Regions from separate parts of the Homo sapiens genome. Here all the other regions are linked to region 2. Evidence: promoter capture Hi-C in 16 types of primary human blood cells and fetal thymus (Javierre and others, 2016). All regions are on one chromosome and are shown on one strand. The core of a region is centred on a gene start or on the middle of the fragment in contact, and the rest is flanking DNA. Distances in the headings are between cores, read along the strand shown.

The links. The method cuts DNA at HindIII sites, captures the fragments that hold promoters and counts their contacts. A CHiCAGO score of 5 or more calls a contact.
Region 1: a contact is called between a fragment that was not itself captured here and the fragment with the promoter of GDF3 in region 2, in 4 of 17 cell types (M0 macrophages, monocytes, non-activated CD4 T cells and 1 more). The highest score is 6.9, in M0 macrophages.
Region 3: a fragment that was not itself captured here is called in contact with the fragment with the promoter of GDF3 in region 2 in 3 of 17 cell types (M0 macrophages, total CD8 T cells and fetal thymus); the score reaches 5.5 in M0 macrophages.

The regions. Positions count from the first base shown.
Region 1 is chr12:7,206,359-7,211,171 of GRCh38, forward strand. It overlaps PEX5 (peroxisomal biogenesis factor 5), which reads left to right. Exons shown (of 16, transcript NM_001351132.2): 11 at 1,301-1,444; 12 at 1,652-1,722; 13 at 2,099-2,311; 14 at 2,647-2,812; 15 at 3,325-3,482; 16 at 3,664-4,813. The coding sequence ends at 3,865. Among named protein-coding and RNA genes, the nearest start is that of PEX5, 19 kb to the left of the region's middle. The HindIII fragment of the contact is 976 bases long and covers 1,040-2,015 here.
Region 2 is chr12:7,693,419-7,698,158 of GRCh38, forward strand. GDF3 (growth differentiation factor 3) reads right to left here and starts at 2,357. Exons shown (of 2, transcript NM_020634.3): 1 at 2,043-2,357. The coding sequence starts at 2,310. RefSeq lists an enhancer at 201-838. The HindIII fragment of the contact is 5,455 bases long and covers 1-2,706 here.
Region 3 is chr12:7,261,418-7,266,010 of GRCh38, forward strand. No RefSeq gene overlaps it. Among named protein-coding and RNA genes, the nearest start is that of ACSM4, 40 kb to the right of the region's middle. The HindIII fragment of the contact is 3,417 bases long and covers 1,182-4,593 here.

The DNA.
Region 1 (4,813 bases), core at 278-2,777, 490 kb before region 2:
TTATGTCTGGCTGCTTTCGCACTACAACAGTAGAGGTGAGTAGTTGCAGCAGATCCACGAAGCCTGAAATATTTATTATCTGGCCCTTCGCAGAAAAAGTTTGCTGATCACTGGACTAGCGTCATTTTCTGCCTTCTTAGTTTTTATATTATGCAGAGATGTCCAAAAACACACTTGTTTTCAATATAAATATACTTTCTATACATTTATCTCAAATCTACTATAATATGTCTTTCTTCTTAAACCCCCCATTGTAATTATTTAATTTTCATTTGTGACAAATAATTTGCATCTGATCATGACTTAGAATTTTGCTGGTAAGATTTAAGTGTTTTTGATTCTTTATCATTTTCACAATAATAATGAAAAAGGGCCTCATGTCTTTATTTTGTACAGTTTTATCTGAATTTATTCTTAACTGCATTTAGAAAGACCTCCACCTGTTGTTTTGCATCTTGTTTTCGTTCTGGTGTATTATTTTATGATGGTAACTACTCTCCAAAAACGGACTTTTTATTTGCATGTCCCAGATTTTGCAGCTTACTAGTGACTTCCCCTTTACCTCATTTCTTCTCTGCCTAGTGTAAAATGCCAGTTGACAAAGCTTTGCAGATAGTATCGTAACTCTTCTCTAAAGTGAGAAATCCTCAGCTGGAAGAGAATGGTGTCTTTCTGAAGTATTCTCTGCCATCTGGATTTTGGGATCCAGCTTTTGCTTACTGTCAGATACAGATTAATATTCATGATTATTAAGAATGAAATCGGGGAATAAATTAACATTTTCAAAATGCTTGAAAATGTTTTATCTAGTTGACATGTGGAATGACTCTGAGCTAAGTAAGAGTTATATTTGAATAGCAGGACTCCAAACAACATTTCCTTTATACATCATCACATTATTGAAGGATAACAAGAAATGCACTTTGCATAGCTAGGGACACTTTGTCTCATTACTATAAGCAGATCCTGTTGAGACATTCTGCCCCGTGGTGAGAAGTCAAGGTGTGGGAATACAAGCCTGTGATGACTTCCTAAAATAAGCTTATTTCCAGCGCAGATGAATTTGTAGACTTTCCTAGCTTCCCAGGTATCATGAACAGGAGATGGGAGCACAAACCTGATACCAAATGATTTTACTTGTGTCATACATGATCTTTATAATATGGAGAATTTGCCAGCAATTAATTCCGGAACCTGTTTGGAGGCCCTCAGCTTCTCTGCCTGCTGGTTGTCATCCTCACATCCCTGCTGTTCTGACGGTGCCACCTCTCAGTCCATCTCTCACGTGCTTTTCTTGTAGGGGTACCAGTTTGAGGAGGAGAACCCCTTGCGTGATCACCCTCAGCCTTTTGAAGAAGGGCTGCGGCGCCTTCAGGAGGGGGACCTGCCAAATGCTGTGCTGCTTTTTGAGGCAGCTGTGCAGCAGGATCCTAAGCACATGGAAGTGAGTGACTCCATAGTCTCATTTCTGGCTAGAGACTGCTTCCTCCATCTTGAGAAAGGCCCCAAGGAGAGTAGTGCAGATGGGTTAGGGCCTGGGTGATGGCCTAGGATAGGGGCTTGAGAGCGAGATGGTGAGTGGGAGAAGCCAGGGGGAAGGGCGAATGGAGAGGTGAATATGGGGTGATGGAATCTGTCAACTTCCCTCTAGGCTTGGCAGTATCTGGGTACCACCCAGGCAGAGAATGAACAAGAACTATTAGCCATCAGTGCATTGCGGAGGTGAGTACACTGAAAGGTGTGGGTGAGGTGCTTCCAAGGCTCTGCATATAACCTTTTGAATGACAGAAGCCCAGACCTGGATCCTTGTCTTCTTTCTGAGTGCTATCAAGAGTGTTTTCTCATGCTGAAACTCTGAGGGTTGGAGTGAATTCCATTCCTTCATCGGCTTTTGATTTTATTTGCGGCTTTGGTTGGCTCCTTGCCTGCTAAAACCTTCCCCTTAGATCTGTAACTTTATTATTAACTCATGTCAGAGGAGTCACAGGTGAGGCCATTGTGACTCTGCATTTCAAAGCTTGGCTTGGATCCCAGGGTGCTCACATGTGCCAGTGTCAGTCATTGCAGATATCAAGTCTGCCCATCCCTGATCAAACAGGTGTCTGGAGCTAAAGCCAGATAACCAGACAGCACTGATGGCGCTGGCTGTGAGCTTCACCAACGAGTCCCTGCAGCGACAGGCCTGTGAAACCCTACGAGACTGGCTGCGGTACACACCAGCCTATGCCCATCTGGTGACACCTGCTGAAGAAGGGGCTGGTGGGGCAGGACTGGGCCCCAGCAAGCGTATCCTGGGATCTCTCTTGTCTGAGTGAGTATGAGGGGTTCCTAGGATGAGGAATTACAGTAACCTAAGTCCCAGTAGGAGGGTGACCTTGGTTTTGGAAGTTTGGATGGATTGAGACTGAAGGGTCCTGAGAATGGGATGGGAAACCTAGGATCAAGTTGAAGGAGGTCTGCATTCTACAGTTCAGTGCTAGGATGAAATAGAAAAACAGGCTTCTATATTGGACTTTGAGAGTAGAAGAGATGACTGATAGATTGATGAATGTTGGGGATATGGTTGATCAATGAAGAAATTAATTTGGGGGGATGGGAATAGAGACATTCATCTACCTACTTTGTGTTTTTTTCCTTTTCATCCAGCTCCCTGTTTCTTGAAGTGAAAGAGCTCTTCCTGGCAGCTGTGCGGCTGGACCCTACCTCCATTGACCCTGATGTGCAGTGTGGCTTGGGAGTCCTTTTCAACCTGAGTGGGGAGTATGACAAGGCCGTGGACTGCTTCACAGCTGCCCTCAGCGTTCGTCCCAATGTGAGCCCAGGGGAGGAATGGAAATGGGACATGACTGTGTACCTTATTGAAGAGCCATTTGTTGGGAAGCTGGGTTTGATGGTGCATGCCTGTAGTCCCAGCTACTTGGGAGGCTGAAGTGGGAGGATCACTTGAGCCTGGGAGTTCAAATCCAGCCTGGGCAACATAGCAAGACCCTGCCCACCCCCACAAAAAAGAATAATTTGTTCAGACTTTTGGAGTCTTGGGGTATTTCATTCCAGTGTTCCATGTACTGACTGCCTTGGGAGGACTGGGAAAAGAAGGCTGGGAGTGTAGGGTCATCTGGACATAAGAGAGTCTGCATAGGGTGAGAGGGGCTACATTGTAGCCACACACCGAACTGTTGAGAATGGAATGGGACGAAACATGTTAGCTAACAGAGTAGTGAAACAGCTGGAGTAATGTGCAGAGTTTGAGCTGAGTCGGTGGAGTAATGTGCAGAGTTTGAGCTGAGTCAAGCTGTTCCCATCCGTTCTGCATCCCTATCCCAGGACTATTTGCTGTGGAATAAGCTAGGCGCCACCCTGGCCAATGGAAACCAGAGTGAAGAAGCAGTAGCTGCGTACCGCCGGGCCCTCGAGCTCCAGCCTGGCTATATCCGGTCCCGCTATAACCTGGGCATCAGCTGCATCAACCTCGGGGCTCACCGGTGAGAGTATCTATTGAGAAATGAATGAATGAGCTTTTTCTCCCTGCCTTTGGCCCTAGCTCCTTATTCTTAGATCCTGTTTGACTAACCAGCCCTAGCTTTCTCCCTCCCACTGCTAGCTGACCTGCTTCCTTCCATTGTTGTTCAGCTTAACAGCTCTCATTCCTCTTCTTCCTTACAGGGAGGCTGTGGAGCACTTTCTGGAGGCCCTGAACATGCAGAGGAAAAGCCGGGGCCCCCGGGGTGAAGGAGGTGCCATGTCGGAGAACATCTGGAGCACCCTGCGTTTGGCATTGTCTATGTTAGGCCAGAGCGATGCCTATGGGGCAGCCGACGCGCGGGATCTGTCCACCCTCCTAACTATGTTTGGCCTGCCCCAGTGACAGTGGGACGGGCTGCCCTGTGAGTGTCCACCTGGAGGGATCCCCGCTTTGGATGTGATTCCCTCTCCCCAAATGGGCCTACCAAGGGGGCGGGCTGATGACCATAAGCGGTACGGCCTTTCAGGAGCTGCCTCAACGTAGGGGTGGGTAGTCTGTGTTCTAGTTCCTACATAATTGTAGGAAAATGAGCTGTGTCATCTCTGAGTCCCTTGGTAATTCAAGGGCTGTACATCCAGCTACAGATCTCTCTGCTCATCATGCCCTTTCTTGGTGCTGCTTTTTGGGTAGGACCCCACGATTTAGGGTAACTGTTATCATCAGCTGCCATTTCTGATAGGGTCTACCACATCTGTAATGTCTGTCCTTTCCCCCACTTTTACTGGGAATTGATAGTCCAGCTTCCTTGGGCAGTGTAAGTAGGAGGTTCATCTGCTGTGCGCCTCTAATGTCTGTCTGGATGGGATGTGTTAGGAGTTGGCCTGTTGGGTTGAATTGTTGATTTGGCTGAGCAGAGCTGAGTTTTGGTAGGAGTGCTCATGGTTCTGTCATTCTTGGACCTCTCCTGGCTGAGCTCTGATTCCCTGTGAGCACGATGCTGATGCAATAGTCCTGTGTCATCACTGCAGCGGTCCTCAGGAGCTGCCAGGGCCAATTGCTACAGAGTGTCTGGGTGTGTGGCATAGGAGGAAGGTTTGCTTGTGAAATGAGGCTGGGTGGGAGCGGGGAGGGACTAGATCAGAAGAGATCAAGGGCTCTATTCAGGAACGTTGGTGGGAGGACAGAGCAAGTGGGAAGGGGGTATGGTGAGTGCGGCAATCCCTCATCCTCTTAGAAGCACCTGTGAATGGGAATTGAGCCAACTGTTATAGAAAATTGGTTCAGAAAGTGCAATCTTGCCAGATTTCTAGCAAATAGGTTCAGTGTTACCATAAGCCTTTGCTGTACTTC
Region 2 (4,740 bases), core at 1,107-3,606:
GGGAGTGGGGGGAGGGCCTTACCATGTTGGCTAGGCTGGTCTCGAACTCCTGGCCTCGTGATCTGCCTGCCTCGGCCTCCCAAAGTGCTGGGATTACAGGTGTGAGCCACCACGCCCAGCCTTAAGTAGGTATTTTCTGAGGTCATTCAGCTTAGGGAGAAATTACAACTCAAACCGAAACACTCTTAAGCACCCCACCACCACACCTCTTCATTCTCAAGCATCATTCAAAACCTAACAAAATTTGGCTGGGCATGGTGGCTCATGCCTATAATCCCAGCACTTTGGGAGGTCAAGGCAGGCCATTGCCTGAGCTCAGAAGTTAGAGACCAGCCTCATGGTGAGACCTCATCTCTATAAAAAAGTACAAAAATCAGCCTGGCGTGGTTGCGTGCACCTGTAGCCTGTAGTTCCAACTACTCTACTCGGCAGGCTGAGGTGGGAAGATCGCTTGAGCCCAGGAGGTGGAGGCTGCAGTGAGCCGAGATTGTGCCACTGCAGTCCAGCCTGGGTGACACAGCAAGACCTGTCTCAAGGGGAAAAAACAAAAAGAGGAAGAACAAGAGGAAGAAGAAGAAAAGCCTGAAGTACTTGACCAGGCAAATTCTGAGGGAGTACTTCAGGCAGCCTGGATACAGCACGTGTGAGGATGAGACAAGAGTGCATGCTCTAGAAGGAATAGACTACTATGAGCTTGGAGTTGAGTGTGCAAGGAGAGGGTGTAAAAGGTGAGACTGGGGAAGTAAGCAGCAGGGTCAGAACAGGCAGGGCATGGTGGGTCAACTCTTGCAGAATTTTGCAGACGAGAATTTTACGTGGAGGAGCAGTACGACTCAATACGCATTTTTAAAAGGTAATTCTGGGCTGGGTGCGGTGGCTCAGGCCTGTAATCCCAGCAGTTTGGGAGGCTGAGGCAGGCGGATCACCTGAAGTCAGGAGTTCAAGACCAGCCTGGCCAACATATAGTGAAACCCTGTCTCTACTAAAAAATTAAAAAATTAAAAAATTAGCTGGGCTTGGTGACACACGCCTGTAATCCCAGCTACTTGGGAAGCTGAGGCAGAAGAATCACTTGAACCCAGGAAGCGGAGGTTGCAGTGAGCTGAGAAAGTGCCACTCTACTCCAGCCTGGGGGACAGAGCGAGACTCTCAAAAAAAAAAAAAAAAAAAAAAGGCAAACTTTATCTTGTATTCTCAAGGCCATACACAGTTCCTGGCTCACCATAGGTATCCAATAAGTGCTTCTTGGACAAATAAATATTCAAATCTTCTCTCCAGTTGCTGTAAAACTAACCAAGGCTCTAAATTCTGCATCTGAAACACCCGGGAGGTTGTATAGACATGCAGATTCTCAACACCCATTTCAGACTTTGAATAAGAATTGGGTGGGGAGAACTAGGGGCAGGAATGGGGTTGGAGGATCTACTGTTAATGGAAGACCTAAGTTATTTGGTGGGTGGTCAGTTTGGGAAAGTACTGGATCCCACTCACTGAGATCCTTTTAAAAGGATATGACAGTTGTATATATTATTGCTCTCTATTCACAAATCTAGAATAACCTTTGCCACCCAACAAGAGTAGCCAGGAGGTACAAATAAGGGAAGCAGGACTCCTGGGCAAACCAACCTCAAAATTTTCATACCCTGCTTGCCACATGGAAGACGGCAGGATGTGTATATATGGGCTGCAGGGTGGGAGACTGAGCTCTGATTCCTCCCTCACCTCTTTCATCTCAACTGAAGCACAAAGCAGTTGATTCAGAAAACAAAAACCTATTTCAAATCCTGACTTTGTTCTCACACACTAGCTGTATGATCTTGAATAGATTACAGGTTACCTACTGTCTGAGCCTAATTTCCTTACTGTTAGGAACTTGATAAGAATATCTAACTTCCTCTCAGGATCGTGGCTGGAATTAAATGAGACAAAATATGAAAAATACCAGCACAAGGCCATCAGTAATTGTCATTTCCTATTGTCCTTTCCTTTCTTCACACCACCCAGTTCCAGATGTTTTTCTGGATAACACTCTATTTCCTTACCTTGGTCTGGGAGAAAGCGAAGTACATTCCCGCGGACGCCCAGCTCCTTTACGTAGCATAAGTCTCGGGAGACCCCAGTGGTCGCTGCTGCCTCGCGATCCTGGAAAATTTTCTTCAAGATATAAGGCACAGGTTGGAACTTCTGGGGTGAAGGCGCCTTATCTAAGCCCAGAAATTGGAGAAAGACATATTCTTGAAATTGGACTGCCTGGCCCAAAGCCAGAATTAACAGGAAGCTGAAAGCCAAATCTGGCAAGAAACGAAGCATGGCCTCTGGAGTGGCTGTCAGACCGGGGAGAGCTCCACTGCCAGACTGCCCAACAATTCAGAGGCTGCTAATTTATCTGATGTAAGATAATCAAGTGTGAATTGCTCTCTTCCCAGCTCCTCAAAGGCCATTGGATGTGAAGAGGGAATTTTTTTTTCTCTTCTCTTGCTCTACTCTTCCAGGAAAAAGTTCACAGAACAAAGATTACCAATGCATGGACATAAATTCTACAACAATGTGAGGTTGTCAGCAGTAGACAGAGTGAAAAGGAGACATGCATTTATTCATTTAACAAACAGTTACTAAGCATCTATTATGTGCACGGTGCTGAGATAGGTGCTAGGAATAGAGCAGTGAATAATTCATAGACTTGTAATTAATCATCTACATAGACCAAGCTTGTCCAACCTGCGGCCGGAGGGTCACATGAGGCTCACGATGGCTTTGAATGCAGCCCCACACAGATTCATAAACTTCCGTAAAACATTATGAAACTTTCTTGTGATTTTTTTAAGCTCATCAGCTATCATTAGTGTTAGTATATTTTACGTGTGGCCCAAAACAATTCTTCTTCTTCCAATGTGACCCAGGGAAGCCAAAAGATTGGACACCCCTGGATTAGACAAATACTCAAGTAGATTTCATTATTTTATTTTTATTTTTATTTTTATTTATGTATTTATTTATTTTTGAGACAGGGTCTCGCTCTGTTGCCCAGGCTGGAGTGCAGTGGCCTGATCTTGGCTCACTGCAAGCCTCGACCCCCTGAGCTCAAGAGATCATCCCACCTCAGCCTCTGGAGTAGTTGAGACTACAGGCATAGGGCACCACTTCCAGCTAATTGTTTTATTTTTTACAGAGATGGGGCCTTGCCATGTTGTCCAGACTGGTCTTGAACTCCTGGTCTCAAGCAGTCTTCCCACCTCGGCCTCCCAAAGTGCTGGGATTGTAGGCATGAGCCACTACACCCAGCCGCCAGCCTTGTTTCTCACCACCCACCATCCTTAGTGTGGATGCTCTAATTACATTGACCTATTTGTAGCTCTGTGAGCTCATTTCATCTCAGAGCCTTTACACAGACCAAGTTCAAAGGTCACCTCTACTTCCACAGTTTCGACTCACCAAAATAGATTGAGATACTTCTTTCTCCCACTGAGCCATACTTGGGCATCCATTACAGTTTTTTTGTTTTTTTGTTTTTTTTGAGACGGAGTTTCGCTCTTGTTGCCCTGGCTGCAGTGCAATGGCACGATCTCAGCTCACCACAACCTCTGCCTCCCAGGTTCAAGCAATTCTCCTGCCTCAGCCTCCCTAGTAGCTGGGATTACAGGCATGCGCTACCATGCCCGGCTACTTTTGTATTTTTAGTAGAGACGGGGTTTCTCCATGTCGGTCAGGCTGGTCTCAAACTCCTGACCTCAGGTAATCCACCCACCTCGGCCTCCCAAAGTGTTGGGATTATAGGTGTGAGCCACTGCACCCGGCCCTCCATTACAGTTTCTGCAGTGCATTTTACTGTGTTTGCCTCCTTCCTTTTCAGACAACTCACACCTTGAGGATCAGAACTGTGTCTCTTTGCCTAAGTATCTTCAGTGTGTCTTTTTCCCCAAAGTATCTCCACTGGTGAAGAAAGTGTCCGGCAGGTAGCAGACATTTGATAAGTATCTGTGCAAAAAATAAATTAAGGAATTAATTGGTTGCTATTTCTAGAGGTCTCACTCTTTTATATAGTGAGGTCTTCCCCATTTCTTTTTTTTCTTTTTTTTTTTTAGAGACTAGGTTTGGGGAGTGTCTCACTGTGTTGCCCAGGCTGGCCTTGAATTACTGGATCAAGGGAATCTTCTGCCTCAGCCTCCAAGTAACTAGAACTACAGGCAGGTGCCACTGCTCGCAGGTCCCACTTCTCTTATCTCCTGTTTCTATCTTATTTAACACTTTTAAATTAATCTACAATCTTAACCTTTTTTCAACAATAAGAGTAGGTTGTATTTGGGTTTTCTTTATTTGACTTTCCTGACTTAAGGTCAGAAATCAGACTAACTGGTTCAAATTCTGGTTCCACTACTGATTAGTTATGTGACCATGAGCAAGCCACTCAAGTGTAAAATGGGAATAAAATATTCTTCGTTGCTGGGCGCGGTGGCTCATGCCTGTAATCCTAGCACTTTGGGAGGCCGAGGCGGGCGGATCACGAGGTCAGGAGATCGAGACCATCCTGGCTAACATGGTGAAACCCCGTCTCTACTAAAAATACAAAAGAATTAGCCGGGCATGGTAGCGGGTGCCTGTAGTCCCAGCTACTCGGGAGGCTGAGGCAGGAGAATGGCGTGAACCCAGGAGGCGGAGCTTGCAGTGAGCAGAGATCGCGCCACTGCACTCCAGCCTGGGATAGAGCAAGACTCCGTCTCAAAACAAACAAACAAACAAACA
Region 3 (4,593 bases), core at 1,640-4,139, 430 kb before region 2:
ATTGAGTATCTACTATGTGCCAGATAGTGCTCTAAACCCTGGACATATAATAGTGAATAAATCAGACAAGAGCTCTACTTTTTTGGAGTCTACGTTCTAATGAGAAGACAGGCAGGAAAATAGCAGATTAATCAGCAAATAGCTCAAGTAAAACCAGATGAGGAGTGCTACTTTAGAATGGGTAGTGGAGTGAAATTCTGAAGACATGACATTTGAGTTGAGACCTCATGAACAAGAATCAGTTATATGGAAATCTGAAGCAACACACTTAGGCTGAGGGAACAGTGAATGTCAAGGTTCTGGAGTAGGAGCCACCTTGGCATGTTCAATGAACAGCAAAAAAAAAAGCGTGATGAGCACAGGGAGGACAGTGGCAGGAGATGAGGCTAGAGACATGGGCAAAAACCAGACATGTAGAGCAGCAGTTCTCAGTCCTCGCTGCTCACCAGAATCCCCAGAGGAGCTTTAAAAATATGGATGACTGGGTCCCCACTCCCAGAGAAACTGATTTAATTGGTCTGAGGTGGGGCTCAGGCATAGATCTTTTGAAAAATGCCCTGGGGATTCTGATGGATATCCAAGGTTGAGACTAATATTGAGACTTCTAGCACTTTGGGAGGTCATGGCAGGCACATCACTTGAGGCCAGGAGTTCGAGACCAGTCTGGCCAACATGGTGGAACCCTATCTCTACTAAAAATATAAAAATTAGCCAGGCATGATGGGGCGCACCTGCAATCCCAGCTATTCAGGAGGCTGAGGAATGAAAATTGCTTGAACCGGGGAGGTGGAGGTTGCAGTGAGCTGAGATTCTGCCACTGCACTCCAGCCTGGGCAACAGAGCGAGACTCTGTCTCAAAAAAAAAAAAAAAAAAAAAAAAAAAAGAAATACCTGAAAAAAAAGAAAGAAAAATAAATACCTGAGACTGGGTAACTGGGTACTTTATACAGAAAAGAGGTATATATACACACAAATATACACATATATATATTTCAGAAAATTTTTTAAAAAGAAGAGACTTCCAGATATTCTGTAGTAAAGAGAATATAGGTGAAAGACTGTGTGTGGAAGCAGAGAATTAATGTAAGTTGAACCTGGTAAACAGAAGAATCATTTCAAATAACATTCCCCCACAGAGAAATTTGAGCAATCTTAATTGCCAGACCTCCTGAGAACATAAAAGCTTTACCTGCCAAGAAAACTTGGCTCAAGAAACACCAACTAATAAAATGTAAGACTTTCTATCTTCCAAGCTAACTAACATGTATTGAATTGGTAATATGTACCAGATATTGTATACTAAGCAATTCACTAGATGGTCTAGTATCTTCATAACAATTTCATCTTATCTGTGAGTAAGACCCAATTTAGAGATGACAGTACTCATCTTGGAGAGATTTAGTGTCTTATGTAATGCCACACAACTATTAAGTAGCAGAGGTGCGTCTCTCTGATTCGAAGTCTATGATCATTGCTGCTGTAAGACCTAGTTTGCTGAGGTTACAAAATGGCCAGTCTAATATTTAAACTACTGCTCTCTAGGAAAGTGCTCTTGGGTTCTGTTATGAAAAACTACCACCAGCCGGCCATGGAGGCACATGTCCTTAGTCCCAGACACTCAGGAGGCCGGTGTGAGAGGATCACCTGAGCTCTGGAGGTTGAGGCTGCAGTGAACCACAATGGCACCATTACACTCCAGCCTGGGCAATAGTGTGAAAAACTGTCTCAGAGAAAAAATGATTTCCCAGAGATTGGCAAAGAAAAAAAGGAGGAAAGAAACAAAGTTGAAAGAAAGAAAGAAAGAAAGAGAAAGAAAGAAACTTCCAGAAATAAAATCAATCTAGAACACTGTGGTAAAACAACTGTGGTAGTTATTACCCAGCTATCCACCCCTGTATTAGTCCATTCTCTTATTGTTATAAAGAAATACCTGAAAAAAAAGAAAGAAAAATAAATATCTGAGACTGGGTAACTGGGTAATTTATACAGAAAAGAGGTTTAATTGGCTCATGGTTCTGCAGGCTGTACAGGAAGCATAGCAGCTTCTGCTGCCTGGGGGACCTCAGGAAACTTACAATCATGACAGAAGGCAAAGGGGCAGCCAGCACTTCACATAGCCGGAGCAGGAGGAAGAGAGATGGGAGAAGGTGCTACATACTTTACACACTTTTAAATAACCAGATCTCATGATAACTCACTGGCTATCAGCACCCATGATCCAATCTGCCCCCATGATCCAATCACCTCCCACCAGGCCCCATTTCCAACACTGAGAATTATAATTCAACATGAGATTTGGTGGGGACACAGATCCAAAGCATATCAACCCCCCAGATAGTACTACAATTTCCACTTGGGCCTTGTGACAAGCTCTGGCCAATGAATTATGAGCTGGAATGATGTATACCATGTCTAGGCTGGAGCACATAATTGCTTCCTTTCCCACACTTATGATGGGCGATCCTTCAGATAATGGTTGTTCTATCAGCCAGGTCACAGAAGATCTCTCAGCCAACCCATGCTGAACAAGTAGTGAGAGCAAAAGATTGTGATGTTATAGACCACGGAGATTTGGGGGATTCTTTATTATGTAGCATAGCGTAGTTCATCCTGACTGATACAAACTGCATCCTTCCTCTCTGAGTTTGTCTAGAGATGACAAATTACCAGCTCTACTTATGCATCACACATGCCCAAAAGTGTGTGTGTGTGTTGTGTATGTGCTTTATTTTGTTGCTAATAAATCTATTAAAAGTGGAAAACTCTAAGTCCATCAGCAGAAAACATTCCTGTAGATATTTCTTCAGTACAAAGGATGTCAGTTGTTCAATCTGACAAGGTAATTAATGAATGAGAAACTCCAGAATAGCCACATCCAGACCACAAATACCTCCCTTGGAGAAAGATGCATATGTGGGCCAAGCAAGGGCAAAAGGAAGGTCCCTAAAGAAGAGCCCACACATGTTGATGTTGCTCTGGGAGAAATATATTAATTTATTTAACAAATAAAAAAGCTACTATGTTCCAGGCATTGTCCAAAGTGCAAAAAATAGAATAGTGAACAGAACAGACAAAAATCTCCCTTTTTATAGAGTTTATATTCCAATGGCGTGAGGGAAGATAATGACATGGCTCTAAAAACATTTAATTGTTCCAGTATAGACTTTCCCCATTTCTCATGATCTGTTCATCCAGCTGAATAAATAAGAAATGTGACAAGCCCATCACCCCCCACTTACTGACAGGGTAAAGTCTGAAGCAATATATGGGGTAATCCAACCTACACCATCTGGGGCCCTGAAATGCAGATCATTAATTTGGATTAAACCCTTAAATACTGGTTTCTGATTTCCATTCATAGGAAACAACAGCTCTTTCTTCTTCTGGCTGCACCTGGGGTTCTGCCCACTGGCCTAGAGGAAGAAATGGAATTCATGTTTTGATCACCACATCTGGCATCTGAATCCCTTCATCTTCTTGAAAACCTCTGAAGATCTGAGTACTGTTTAAGAGCAGACTCCCTAAGGCAATTATCCTCTCAGGCCAGAAGTCTCAGGAGGTAGAGGTTGGAGTCTATGGTAGCACCATCTTTGACTCACTGGTCTGTCTGCATAGAAAATACTGCAACTCATGTTTAGCTATTGTCTAATGTATGTGCCATCAGCTCCTAAGGGGACAAAGACAGAGTGACAGCCCCTTCCTGTGACGGTTACTATGGGACTGAACGAAGGAGGACGAATGCAGAAATGAAGACAAAGACAAAAGATCTGTTTTAAAAGAAGGGGTGGGGGGCTCCTTGTTTCTAGTGAGCAAGGGCCCTGAGCTTCTACAGCCCTTTGTATTTATTACGTAGAATCAACAGGGAGGAAAGGTAATGGTTGGTCAGCTGCTTGATTTATCACAGGTTCACCTAATTGCTTTTTTTATACTACAGGCTTCAGATATTCCTATAGATAACCACAAGGAACACTGCGCTTGGGGCGTGACTGCCTCAGCATTCCTTCTGGCAGCAGATGCAGTTTGCCAGTTTGCCAACTCCCGCTTTCATGAGAACAGTTTGCTATTTGCTCATATAGCCTCCAGTGGTATACTGAGTTGGTCATGACCCTCATTCTTTTGGCCTCCAACACTTTCCCATTTCCTTTATTCCAATAACTGTGTGCTGTTATGTATCTGTACCTTGTGTACCTCTAAACTCTTCACTGAGTGTGATACAAAGTACATTAATTAGTAAATATTTGAGTAGTAAATAATCCTGGGTTTCAACCAAATATAGATTGATCCAGACACATAATGTTAAGTCACAAAGGAGGGAGGTCTGTTCAGCTTCCTGTCTTGCCTCACGGCTCCTTTCTGGTACTGTGCACTGTGGGCCAACAATGTTAGTTACTAGTCTAAGACTATACAAGGCCTAATGTGGTTAGTCATTCTTATATTAGTAAAGCTCAACAGCAAATAATGGTTGATTTACTGATTGTCAAATACTATTTCTCACTAAAGGAAACCAGAACTCTTTAGCGAAATGGCTGACTTCAGAACTGTGACAGGAAATGTACAAGATGAACCTGGGACATCTTATTTGTGCCAGAAAAT